3 separate regions of the Homo sapiens genome follow, and regions 2 and 3 are each linked to region 1. Evidence: promoter capture Hi-C in human tissues and cell types (Jung and others, 2019). All regions are on one chromosome and are shown on one strand. Each heading gives the region's core, a stretch centred on a gene start or on the middle of the fragment in contact. The rest is flanking DNA. Distances are from core to core; before and after follow the strand shown. Region 1 holds the start of PTPRG (protein tyrosine phosphatase receptor type G). Region 2 overlaps FHIT (fragile histidine triad diadenosine triphosphatase). Region 3 overlaps FHIT (fragile histidine triad diadenosine triphosphatase).

Region 1 (4,101 bases), core at 678-3,177:
GGGACAGCTACGAGGGAGCTCGGGGCTGCTGCCCGGGGGACCTGCAAGAGAGGAGAGGGAGGCAGCTGGCCTCTGCCCTCCCCAGGGGAGAGAGGAGGGGGAACTGCCAGCTGAGAGCTGGAAGTGGAGGGTCGCCGAGCCGCACACCGTTACGTGCGGTGATTTATTCTTATCAACGGCCAGTATTGTTCCTGTCTTAACCTGGCCAGAAAGGAGCGAGACTGGGTCTGCCAGCCGCGAACAGCCTGCAAAAGGGCAAAGATGAAGGTAGGCAGGGCGCGCGAGACAGGAAAAAAATCAGCCCCGGCGCGAACAGCAACCCGGCCGCCGAAACCGCCCCGGCCGCCGAAACCGCCCCCGCCCCCTCCCCGCGTCCAGACCCAGGCAATCCAATCGAGCAGAGCAGCGGAGGGAAAGGGCCACGGGCCGGGGCTAGGGGAGACACGGATCTCTCCGAAACCGCCTGCGCCCTGCCGTCTCACTGCGCCCAAGGAGGCTGCCTCACGCCGGCACCGAAGTGCTGCCCGCGCCCCAGCCCCCAGAGAGAGGGAGGACGCCCCCGACCCAGAACGCAGGCTGCTCCCCACACATCCTCAGTCCTCCGCAGCCAGCCTCCGACTTCCATTCCCCGAAACCTAGCCCTCCCAAAGGGATGGAGAACAGCAAAGCAAACCCCCACCTTCTGAGTTCCTTCAATACCCGCCAGAGCGAGGGGGCTCATCCCGGGCCCCCCAAACCCACAGAAGCATCCTTTCCATGGCCTCAGTCTCCCCAACCGCCCCACAACTCGAGTTCTCCCGATCGGCGACGAGTCAGCAAAGCAAGTCCCCCTTTCTCCCGATTCCAGCTCCCCAGGACCCCCAAAAGGGAGCGGGAGCAGACCCCCGCGTCCCCCAGCCCCCTCCCCGGCCAGCCCCTGCCTCCACCTTCCTCGACCACTAGCCTGCCTCCCTAAACATCATCCAAGCCAGCGGAGCAATCCTTTTCTCCTATCCGGGCGCCGGGCCACCCTCCACCCTCTCCAGGGTCTCCCGGACGGGCGCCGGAGCTCCGCGCCCAGGCGACAACTCCGCATCCCCAACGCGCGCCGGCCGGGGCCGCATCCCCTCGGCGGCCGGCACTCACCGGGGAAGCACACGACATAATGGAGCACGGAACTGGTGATTTTCAGGAACAAAATCCACCAACACGGTTCCAGTAACCTCCGCATGTCCGAAAACGCACATCGAAAAGAGGAAAGCAGGGAGGTAAACTTGTTGAATAAGTTCTTGCCTCCGTGCGAGCCTCCGCTAAGCCGGGGCGCTTCCCCGGCTCGCCCGCTCCACGGGCCCCCCGCGCTCGGCGGCCCGAGTCCCCTTGGAATCCGGGAAGCCGCCGAGCGCCCCCCGGAAAATCTCAAAAAGTGACCGGGAACGCAGAGCCACGCTGGGGACGATCCTCTCGGCGGAGAAAGGCTGCTTTCCGTTTAAAAAGGAGAGAGCCGATCGGGCAGGGCGCGGAGTCGGCGGCCGGCGGCGATGCCCCGGGCCTGGGGCAGGCAGGGACCGCGGGCGGCGGCGGCGAGCAGCCGAGGATCCCCAACTTGAGTCGGCAGCGCAGCACAGCCCGAGAGCCGGCGGGCGGCGGCGGGGCTGAGCGCGGCGCGGCGTCTCCGGGCTTCAGGCAGGCAGCTCCTTCCAGGGCCCCGGGAAGGAAGGAGGCATGTTTGCGAGAGGGGAAGGGGAGGGGAGAGGCAGGGGGAGCGGAGAGCCCCCCAAAATAGAAACGGCCGGAGGAAACGGAGGAAAACACAAAGGATCTCAGAGGGGCGCTGGGGCGAGGGCGCCTTCAGTCCATGCTCCTGAAAGTTGTGGCTCCGGCGCAGGCTGGGAAGGAACGAAGAGCGCGGGGCTGGAAACTGGCCATGCCTCCATACAGGAAGTAACATGTGAGCATGGATCCTGGCAGAGACTTTAAAGCCGGCGAGCGAAGGAGCGAGCGAACAGGGGGCGCGCGGTGGCGGCGGGGGCGCGCAGCCCGGGCCAGCTGGCGGCGGGCGCGCGCTCTCCGCGTTCTTAAAGCAGCCGCGCTTGGCTCCCGCCTTGCGCTGGGTCCCTCGGCTCTGCTCTCTCCGCGCGGCCTCTACTGGGACAGTTTGGGGACTGGGGGCGATTGTAGCCCGTGCGCGGAGAGAGGAGGGAGGCTGCCTTCTGGGGCCGGCTTGTTTTTTGCTGGATTCCCGTTGTTCGAGCTCTTAAAAGACGCCGCACGGTGCTCGGGTTTGGCGAGATCCTCCGCGCAGCTCGCGGATCCCGGACTTGAGGGGCCCCTCGCCCTGGCGAGGGGAAAGGGGGAGGGCGGACAGCTGCCTTTTTAAAGCGATGGGGTTTTCTGTTCGGCTTCACTGCCCTGGCATTTGCAGCGGTGAGGCTCACCGTCTGCGGCTCCTGTTCGCGCCTCCAACACAGCGCATTCCCCCGCCGGGAAACAAAGCCGAGCGGCCTTTGCACTCCGGCTACATTGAGATTTAATTTTTTTTTTTTTTCTTTTTCGGGCTTTCATTGGCCCAGTCCAAGGCTGGGGAAAGTGGGGGAGGGGAGGAATGTCGATCCCAGGATTGCGAAATCTAGCCCTTCCGAGCCCCGCATCCCCTTTCCCGGCGCCACGATGGATCGGTGGCGGAGTTTCCCCAACTCGCAGCTTCTCTGGAGAAGGTTCCCGCACCCCGGTTTGGCCGCGGGGAGGGCGCAGGAAGTGCGCCTCTTACACCCTGCAGGGTGAAAGCAGCGCCGCGGGGCCGGACTGATTTCCTGGCAGCTACCCGGGGAGCGGCTGCTTCTTTAGCAATCGGGGAGAGGCGTCCGGGGGAAATGGGAGGACTAGGCTTATCTGTAATGAGTTTTGTCCCTTGGCTCTCGGTAAGAAGATCTTTATCGCTTAGACTTCTAAGCGCCCTATTTTACATTCTTAACGCTGGGGCTAAAAGTGGGGGAGGCGGGCTTTCGAGTAAATGTGTAACTGAGCCAAGGTAATTAGCCGTTTGACATTTTTTGCCTAATTTTTCTGCCTGTGTTTCAAAGCGATCTTGACGTGGGATTGTTTTGTTTTGTTTTGAGACGGAGTCTCGCTCCGTCGCCCAGGCTGGAGTACAGTGGCTCGATTTCGGCTCACTACAACCTTCGCCTCCCGGGTTCGGGCGATTCTCCTGCCTCAGCCTCCCGAGTAGCTGGGACTACAGGCGCCCGCCACCACGCCCGGCTGATTATTTTTTTGGTGGTTTTTTTTGTTTGTTTTTTGTTTTATTTTGGTTTTTTTTGTAGAGGCGGGGTTTCACCGTTTTGGCAAGGCTGGTCTCGAACTCCTGACCTTGTGATCCGCCTGCCTCAGCCTCCCAAAGTGCTGAGATTACAGGCGTGAGCCACCGCGCATGGTTCTTGTGTTTTAAACGTGTCCCTGCTGTTTCATCCCAACACGGCAGGGTCCTCCACCCACCCAAACATCCCAACCGGATGCTAGGTTTTCAAATAAAGTACAGATGGTCGGAGATCCTCCCGTTCGATGTGATTAAGGAAGCATTTTCACACCCACACTTCCAAAAGAAAAACCTTTGAAAAGTTACGTATGGGATTACAAACTAATAAAAGCCAGGAAGTTCCTGGGGAGGGCCCTAGCTCTATCTTTAGCAGAACGGGGGTGAACACCCTCCCCCAGGGTGGGGAATGAGGCGAGTTTGTTTGCTTTGGAATGTGGTCCTTCCTGGTTTTATTGGAATCCTGACTTCTTTATAAAGGATTGCGAGGGCCATTTTTCTTGGAAGTGTTGTAATGAGGGATATTCGTTCCTCAAGTTAGATTACCCCAGCATCCCTGACTACCTTCTTAATGTCGAGTGATAAAATAGGAAAAACTCGTCAAATACTTGTGTCAGCGTCCTCAGGTGAGGTTTCCTCCTCTGTGAAATGGACAGTAAAAGCTGTCCTTTGTGGAATGCTTACTGTCTACCAGGCATTGTGCTGAATTCATGCCATAAACTGCTTGCTCATTCAACAAATGTATTGAGCACCTACTGTTTGAGGGACACACTGGGAACACAGCCTCGAACAAAAAGGGCAAGCCCCCATGC
Region 2 (4,101 bases), core at 743-3,242, 820 kb after region 1:
TTCTCCACACCAATCTCACTGGTCTTTATTCAGTCCTTATGTTTACTGCTCAGCCTCACGGCAAGGCCTTTGAGTGTTTGATTCCCGCTGCCTATGATGCTTTTCCCCTGGCTTTAAATGTCAGCTCAAGTACTGTTTCTTCTGAGACAAATTATCTGCCACCCCATATCTAGACGAACTCTTTGTAATAGAGCCTCCTAGTACCAAAATACTTCTTATACACCTTTCAGAGGGTCAGTTTTATATTTGTGAGATCTTTTGATTAGTAGCTTCCTTTTCTCTGGACTTGCTTTTTTCCCCCTTTTTGTGGAGAATGGGGTCTTCCTATATTGCCCTGGCAGGTCTCAAACTCCTGGGCTCATGCTATCCTCCCGCCTCTGCCTCCCTAAAAGCTGGGATTACAGGTGTGAGCCACTGCACCCAGCCCCTCTGGACTTCTAAGGACAGGGACTATGGTTGTTTTGACTCACCTTGATATCCCCGTCACTCAGCACAATGCTTGGTGCTTAAAAGGTACCTAATAAATATGGATTACATGATTGGCCAAATAAATAAATTCAATACAAGTTTAATCAGAAGATGGGCCTTACCTTGTCATTGAGGGATTTATCTAGTTAAGAATTCCAGATGAATCTCTATCAGAACAGCCAACAGAGAAAATGTATTCAGATGCAGGAAGGCTAGAAGGCAGCCTGTAGCAGCAACTACACCCATTTCACTCTGTATTGGGTCAGGCAAGACTTCATTAACAACTGTTCAAAATGCAGGACACCATTGATGGTAATGGTTTTGGTTAGATGTGGGGACAATCTCTCTGGGACTGCAGGAAGGTTGTTCTACTGTTACAGGGCTCACAACTATAAAGTGTAAATTATTCTCTCCTGTTTCTCTGTTTTTGAGGGACTTGTCATGGATCCCCTATTAGAACAAAGTTGTGGACACTTAGCAAGTTGTGTATAAATGAGCTTTCGTTGTTTTCACTGATCCATCCCAATTAGTTCCCCTACTTGTCTGCATGCTATCTGCCTAAGGAAATGTGAAATATCTTATTTGCAAGGAGAGATGGAATTCTTGTGCATATAGGTTTTTTTCTTTTCTTTTCTTTCTGTTTTTTTTTTTTTTTGTTTTGTTTTGTTTTTTTTTTTACATTACTTCCAATTTGCAAAGGAGAGAAGTAAACAGTTTGCATAGGGAAAACGCGTTTTTCGTCAGTAGACTGCTGTGGACGGCAAGAGAGAGGAGCTTTACCAGGCATTGAAATAGTAGCTTTTGTGGTCTCAGGTCAGAGCATCGCTCTGTGTCTCTAGGCAGATTTGGTTTAAGGCCAAAACAAATAGCCCCCCTTCCTTGGGTTCTGACCCCTGGGGGCAGAAAAGGGAACTAAGCTAGTCCAGCTGCCACTGCAGGGGAAGTCATTGTTCTCTCCAACCTTCTGGGAGCTCCAAATAATTAACTGTGCAAAGAGCAAGTTGGAATCAGAATTCTCCTCCAGGGTTTTCTGTGTCCAGCCAAACAGAGCGAGCTGAGCTGAGAGACAAAAAAACCCCGTGAAAGAGAACCAGCGCTGAGTCTCCTTTCTCCTTCCTTGCTTCAGTTCTGGTCCCCTGGACCTGTGTCCTCAGCTACCTCATCTCTCTTAATTCCTCCAGGCCCCTCATCATGTGTAGCCAGAGGGAGATTTTTCTTAATGAGAAGAGCCAGCAGGCCACTCTCCAGTGGAAGGTTGGTGCTTTGGGACTTAGAAGGCTTGGCATGTGGACAGAAATCTCCCTTACTCTCAGAATTTCTGATGTTTTCAAAGAGAAGCCAGAAATCTGGACTGTGGTGTGAAGTCATCCAAGTTTAAAATGTTTGCTCTATGTTTTGTGTTTATACACAAGGTGCAGGCCAAACAAAACACATTTTTCCTACCTCTGAACTAGACCATAAGCTTCCTGGAGGTGCAGATTGTGTTGATCTTGTTTGCTCTGGTATTACCCAGGACCTAGCACAGTACCTGCTGCATAATAGCAGTTCAACATCTATTGACCTGCATCCCTAGGAGACTCACTATGCTGTCATTCCCTTGATATTAATGACAATAAAGTACAACAATAATTAGATCAATGACTTTTTACTGAGCACATGTTAAGTGCTTTATATATAATTTGATCTGCATTATGACCTTAGAAGCTGTGTATTCTCACTTTGCAAATAGAGAAAGCAGCTCAGAGCCTAAAAATGTGACCTCAGCCAGTTGCCCAGCTGCAGTGTAGATTCTGATTCAAGCAGCACTGTGTCCGAAGCCAGGGTTTGCAATCCTAATGCCACAGTGCCTCCCGCTCTGTTCTGCTGATTCCCGCCAGAGGGAGCAAGGGTGAACTCTCCTAGCGTTAGCTCTTCCAAAAGGGAGAACCAAGCCTGGGTGTTGTCAACTTGCCTTCAGGGCAGACCTTTGAAAGGATGAATATGGTCAGTAGGTATTATTTTCCTTCTGCATAGCATTGAAAAACGTTCCTACTTTTCCATCTCCATCTCTTTATGAGGAACTACTCTGCAGGGGACTTCGATTAGTTGTGATTGTCATGGTATACTGTCATTTGATATCCTTAAGCGCTACAGAACAGTCCATATTTAGGCATCTTCTGAGGACTCAGGGGCAGTCTGAGCTGAGGTTCACAGAGTCATTGTTTGGTGTCCTTAACTAAATGCAAAAGTGGTGACTCATTACCAACTTAGGATACAATCAAACGCATGGGTTCCTAAAAGCAGAATGCTGGTTGTAGCCTGCTGGTCATGAAATACATTTTTTTCTTGTGGTGCAAATACTTTATTACAGGTAGTGAAGTGTTAGAACATTATTCTATGAGAGACACAAAAGCCTAATTTTACAAAGTGGGGTAGCTACCATTTGATGGGCTTATATTTGTTAATGGTCTCAGCTATTGGGAGAGACTTTTAATCAGGAGAAATGGACAGTAGGAATGAAGAATATAGACCTTCAGAAAAACTGAACATGCTCTTCCCCTGCTTTCTATGTGGGCAATGTCTCAATGTCTCTTTTGATTTTTCCAGGCTATCATCCTGGTGTGAAGCCCATTTACTCTTTCACTAAATTTTTCTCTGATAGAGGAAGGTTTTGCAAGCTGGACTATTGGAAGTGAAAAGTAGCTTTTTAAGGACATTCGTTGTAATTAGCATCATAATTTCACTTACTGAGGCATCATTTAAGAATTTTGCACTCATTCCCTCATGTGGTCCTTTCTAAGACCTTGTGACACTCCCCTACTTCCCCGCTATTTTACAGATGAGGAAACAAGCTCAGAGTGCCCCAAATCACACAGCTGATAAGTAGCAATGTCTGACTATTGTTTCAAGTACGGTTCATGCATCAGAATATCCTGGGAAACTTCTAGACATTAAGTAAAGCTTCCTGAGTTGCAACCTTCTGACCTGCTGTCTTAATTGGAGGGGAGCCTGGGAATCTATTTTTCAAAAGTCCCCCAGGTCACTGTGATGTACAGTCAGACTTGGAAAACATTGCCATATATTATACCATACATTATACCACACTGAAATAAATCAAAGTACAGATTCAGTTTGGAAATTTCAATGGTTGCTTTTTCTGGTCCAACACAGCCATCCCCACTTGTGCCTGAGGGCTACAGAAAGTGCTTTTCAAAGGAGGTACATTTTGCTAGATCCTAATGAATGGATAAGAAGGAGAAGGAGAAAGGGCATTTCAGGCAAAGTGACCACAGGCAAAAGTCACAGAGTCGAAACTGGACTTGAAGTGCCTGGGGGGAATGTTACAAAGTCAATATGCCTGGGCAGATAGTGACAGATGTAAAGTGTGTATTATCAGTTGAGTCCGAGTGGAGTCTGTCTTGGGATGTCCCAGCAGAATTGGCTTCAGCTGTGGAGCACAAAACACCTTTCTCATTGGTCAGTTTTCTTGACAGCCTGCTTCAGGGCATCCTTACCTGCATGCTTCTGCCAGACCACTTGCTGAAGATGATCAGGCAACGTGCTGACAGCTCAGATAGGGTTCCTGTCTACAAACTCCTTAAACTCGATTGCAATAGGGTCAGATCCACTGTCAAAAATGATAGTGGATGAGAA
Region 3 (4,101 bases), core at 689-3,188, 720 kb after region 1:
CCTCACGGAGCTGAAGGACCCTCGCCACCGGGTCTAAATAAGATCAAGTCCCCTCTGAGAGGCAGCATGAAGGTGGCATGCAGTTTTAAAAAAAAAATAGTTGGACTGTAAAGGAAATAAAGACGTAGTTAAATAAGCCCTTATGTTATCACATAGACACTTTTTATTCTTCTGTTTATTTTTTTCTGTGTTTTTCTGAAACTACTTTTCACCAGAAGTGCGATAGCAGTTATGTAAATGCAGAAATCTATTCCATTTCATGTCTAGAGCCAACTCTAGATGCTTCTAAGGGGGTGGGGTGAGCTATGTGGCTGGGCAGAGGGTCAGCATAATAAACGGGAGAGGGAGAGGGACAACAAATGAGCTGCAGTCCCTAGAGGTCTTTGGGGACTGGGCATTTCTGGGGCATCGAATGTGAACTTGACATACTGTATGTAAATCTGATTTTTTTTTCTCAGCCACTGTCATTGGAAAATTTTCATTTAGTAAATAATGCAAAATATACATTAAGAAATGTTAATGTTTTGACAGACACTGACAAATGCCAGGGAATCAGAAGCAACAGGAAAGCTGAAGCACTTCACTGAATGTGCTGCCATCTAGCCATGATCTCATTGCATGCTGCTTCACTCACTGGTCACAGAGACACTGAAGTCATTCGGCAGGCAGGATGGAGTGTGTGTAAAATGGAGTGTAGAAGGCAGGGAATCGGCTGAGTCTTTTACTTTTATTGGCCATTAACACATCCTACCAGTCCATAAACTAAATTTTGATACGTATTAGACTAAAGATAATGTTAATAATTCATGGAAAAGCTACTTTAAAAAGAGTGTTATAGTAGCAATCATTGCTTTAAATATTACACTCACCATTTTCGTCTGTTCGGTAGCTCCTCGTGGTACACAGGATAAAGTTTACTCCTTAGTAGAGGATGAGGCCCTCTAGCCCAGCATCCTTCCCTTAGCTGTCTTTTCTACTGCATCTCTTGCTTGTTCCAATGGGTGTTCTATACCTCAGCCAGGCATTCAGTCTCACAGATTCTCAAATGTACCATCTTTTCCGCTTTTCTCAGGGCTTTCGTGCTGGGTTCCCCTTCACCCAGGAAGTCCTTTTACTACCTAACTTTCAGAACCTGGTTCACACATCTCTGAGAAGTTTTCACTGATTCTCTCAAGCAGTGCTGATTCTCTCTGTGTGTCAGCATCGTGACAAGTACATACCTGCATTTTTGCACTTATCACACATTATTGTAATTATTTTTCACATGTTTATTTTTTCTGCCAGAATCAGTTTCTTGTAGCCTGGTGACATTTAAATTCGATAGGATCCGGTTTATTGTATATTTTTTTAGCTCTTCCTACATGTATTATTTTTGAGTTTCTGCTGAGACTCAGGAACTTAAAGCTTTCAAAGTCCTGAATGCAGATAACAATCAACAGTCAAGCCAGTATCCTATTGCCTGTGAAAATATCCTCAGGAATAAAGGGGAAGTAAAAATATTATCAGATGAAGGAAAACTAAGAGAATTTGTGTTTTTTGTTTGTTTGTTTGTTTGTTTTTGTTTTTGTTTTTGAGACGGAGTCTTGCTCTGTCGCCCAGGCTGGAGTGCGGTGGCGCGATCTCGACTCACTGCAAGCTCTGCCTCCCGGGTTCAAGCGATTCTCCTGCCTCAGCCTCCTGAGTCGCTGGGACTACAGGCGCCCACCACCACGCCCGGCTAATTTTTTGTATTTTAGTAGAGACGGGTTTCACCGTGTTGCCCAGGTTCGTCGCGAACTCCTGAGCTCAGGCAATCCGCCTGCCTCGGCTTCCCAAAGTGCTGGGATTACAGGCGTGAGCCACCACGCCCAGCCGGAAAACTAAAAGAATTTGCATAATTGCATCACTGCACTCTCCAGCCTGGATGACACGGTGAGACTCTGCCTCGAAAGAAAAGAAAAGAGTTATCTAATTGGAAAGAAGACAATTAAAAATGGATCTCTTCAACATCAGAAAGGAAGAAAAAAACATAGCAAAAACATTTGTACTCTTGAGAGCTCTAATTGTGTTTGAAGTTTGAAGCAAAAATTGCAATATTCTGATGTGGATGTAAATGCATGTAAAGGAAGTATTTAAAATAATTATATTATAAATGGGGAAGATAAAGGGATGCAAAGTGCGGAGATAGGGTTTCTATATGTTACTCAAACTGGTAAAATGATGACACCAGTAAACTGTTTAGTTATAAATATATAAAGTAATACCTAGAGAAACCTTTAAAAAATTATATACAGAAATGCACTGAAAGACACTTTAGATAAATCAAAACAGAATTCCAAAAAGTGTTCAAATAGCTTATAAGAAGTCTGGGCAAAGAAAACAGAAAACCACAAAGAGAACAAACAGAAAATAAACAAAAAATAAAATGGCAGTGTAAATTCTAAAATATCAATAATTACATTAAAGTTAAATGGTCTAAATATACCACTTATAATACAGGGAAGAGATTAGCAGAATTGTTTAAAAAATATGACCCAACTATATTCTGTCTATGAGAAGCTCACTTTCAATATAACAATAGACGAAAGTAAAATAATGGGAAAAGATGTATCATGCAAACTTTAATCAAAGGAAAACAAGAGTAGCTGGTTCTTTGAAAAGGTTAATAAAACTGACAGTCTAGCAAGACTGACAAAGAAAAGAGAAAAGACACAAATTACCAATATTGTAACTAGGCAACTTAACTTCCAAATGCATTTTAAAACATTTTTTTCTCTTCTCTTGGTTTTCAAGATACAACCTTGAAAAACTGCAGAAGCCTTTTCCTCAGCCTAGAAATAGGCTCCACGTCCCTCCCTTTTTCACCATATATACTCCCTTCACATTTGTCTAAGTATATACTAGTATCTAATTACTGTGCCTTCTTAGAAGTTCCAGGGGCTAATCTTGAGACAGGCGGAATAAGCTTGGAGACCCAGCTGCAAAATTCCAGAGATTACTTCAAAGTGGCTAGTTAAAAACCTGGCCATGGCTGCTCAGGAACTTAAAGCATTCAAAGTCCTGAATGAAATAATAATCAACAATCAAAGCAGTGTCCTACAGCCCGTGAAAATATCCTCAGGAATAAAGGGGAAGTAAAGATATTCCCAGATGTCTTGACTCACCATCCAGGTAGACTGAGACCCAAGATAGCTACCAGAACAAGACACACAGATATTATACTTAGTACAATTCTTGCATGCCTTCCTTATCAAGTTTTCCCTTTTTAAACCCCTGCCTTCCCCCAAAATCAAAGTGATTGCTTTGGGCGGGAATCTGACCATTTCCCCTTTACTGGTTTTAGTAAAATGACTTTCTTTCTACTAGACCTCACTCTTGTTAACTGGACTCTGTAAACAGTGGGCATCTGGACCTGCATTTGGTTACAATATCAGGAATGAAAGAGGAGATATCACTATTGACCCTGTAGACATCAAAAGGATAATAAAGAAATGCCATGAACAACTCTACACACATAAATTTGATAACTTAGATGAAATGGGCCACTTCCTCAAAAACACAAATTCCTACCATTCACCTATCATGAAATAGATAATATTTAAAAGCCCATAACTATTAAAAATTGAATTAATCATTTAAAAACTCCCTGAAAATAAATATTTAGGCCCAGATGGCCTCACTGGAGAATTTTACCAAACATTTAAAGAATAATTAATAGGAGTTTTATACAGTCTCTTCCAGAAAATAGGAGAGAACACTTCGCAATTCATTTTAGGAAGCTGGTATTACTCAGATATGAAAAACAGAAAAAACAGTGCAAAAAAGAGAAATATATACCAATAACTGTCATAAATAGAGACACAACAATCCTGAACAAAATATTAACAAACAGGATTCAGGCTAAAAGAATAATATACCACGACGAAATGGAGTCTAGTCCAGCAGTGCAAGGCTGGTTCCACCACTCCTATTCAACATAGTGCAGGAAGTTCTAATCAATGCAATAAGGCAAGAAAGGGAAATGAAAGGCATACAGATGGAAAGAAAGAAAACTGTTAATATTTGCTGATGTCATGATTTTCTACACAGAAAACACTAAGTGATCTACAAAGACGAAAAAAC

Evidence for each region. The method cuts DNA at HindIII sites, captures the fragments that hold promoters and counts their contacts. A contact is called where the count stands out against the background at its distance.
Region 2: a contact is called between a fragment that was not itself captured here and the fragment with the promoter of PTPRG in region 1, in 1 of the 25 tissues and cell types used here (thymus).
Region 3: a fragment that was not itself captured here is called in contact with the fragment with the promoter of PTPRG in region 1 in 1 of the 25 tissues and cell types used here (thymus).

Annotation. Positions count from the first base shown.
Region 1 is chr3:61,559,397-61,563,497 of GRCh38, reverse strand. PTPRG (protein tyrosine phosphatase receptor type G) reads right to left here and starts at 1,927. Exons shown (of 30, transcript NM_002841.4): 1 at 1,126-1,927. The coding sequence starts at 1,210. RefSeq lists an enhancer at 3,150-3,825. The HindIII fragment of the contact is 9,021 bases long and covers 1-4,101 here.
Region 2 is chr3:60,741,291-60,745,391 of GRCh38, reverse strand. The region is part of intron 4 of FHIT (fragile histidine triad diadenosine triphosphatase); the gene reads left to right. Among named protein-coding and RNA genes, the nearest start is that of MIR548BB, 130 kb to the right of the region's middle. The HindIII fragment of the contact is 4,055 bases long and covers 1-4,019 here.
Region 3 is chr3:60,835,943-60,840,043 of GRCh38, reverse strand. The region is part of intron 3 of FHIT (fragile histidine triad diadenosine triphosphatase); the gene reads left to right. Among named protein-coding and RNA genes, the nearest start is that of MIR548BB, 220 kb to the right of the region's middle. The HindIII fragment of the contact is 4,995 bases long and covers 1-4,101 here.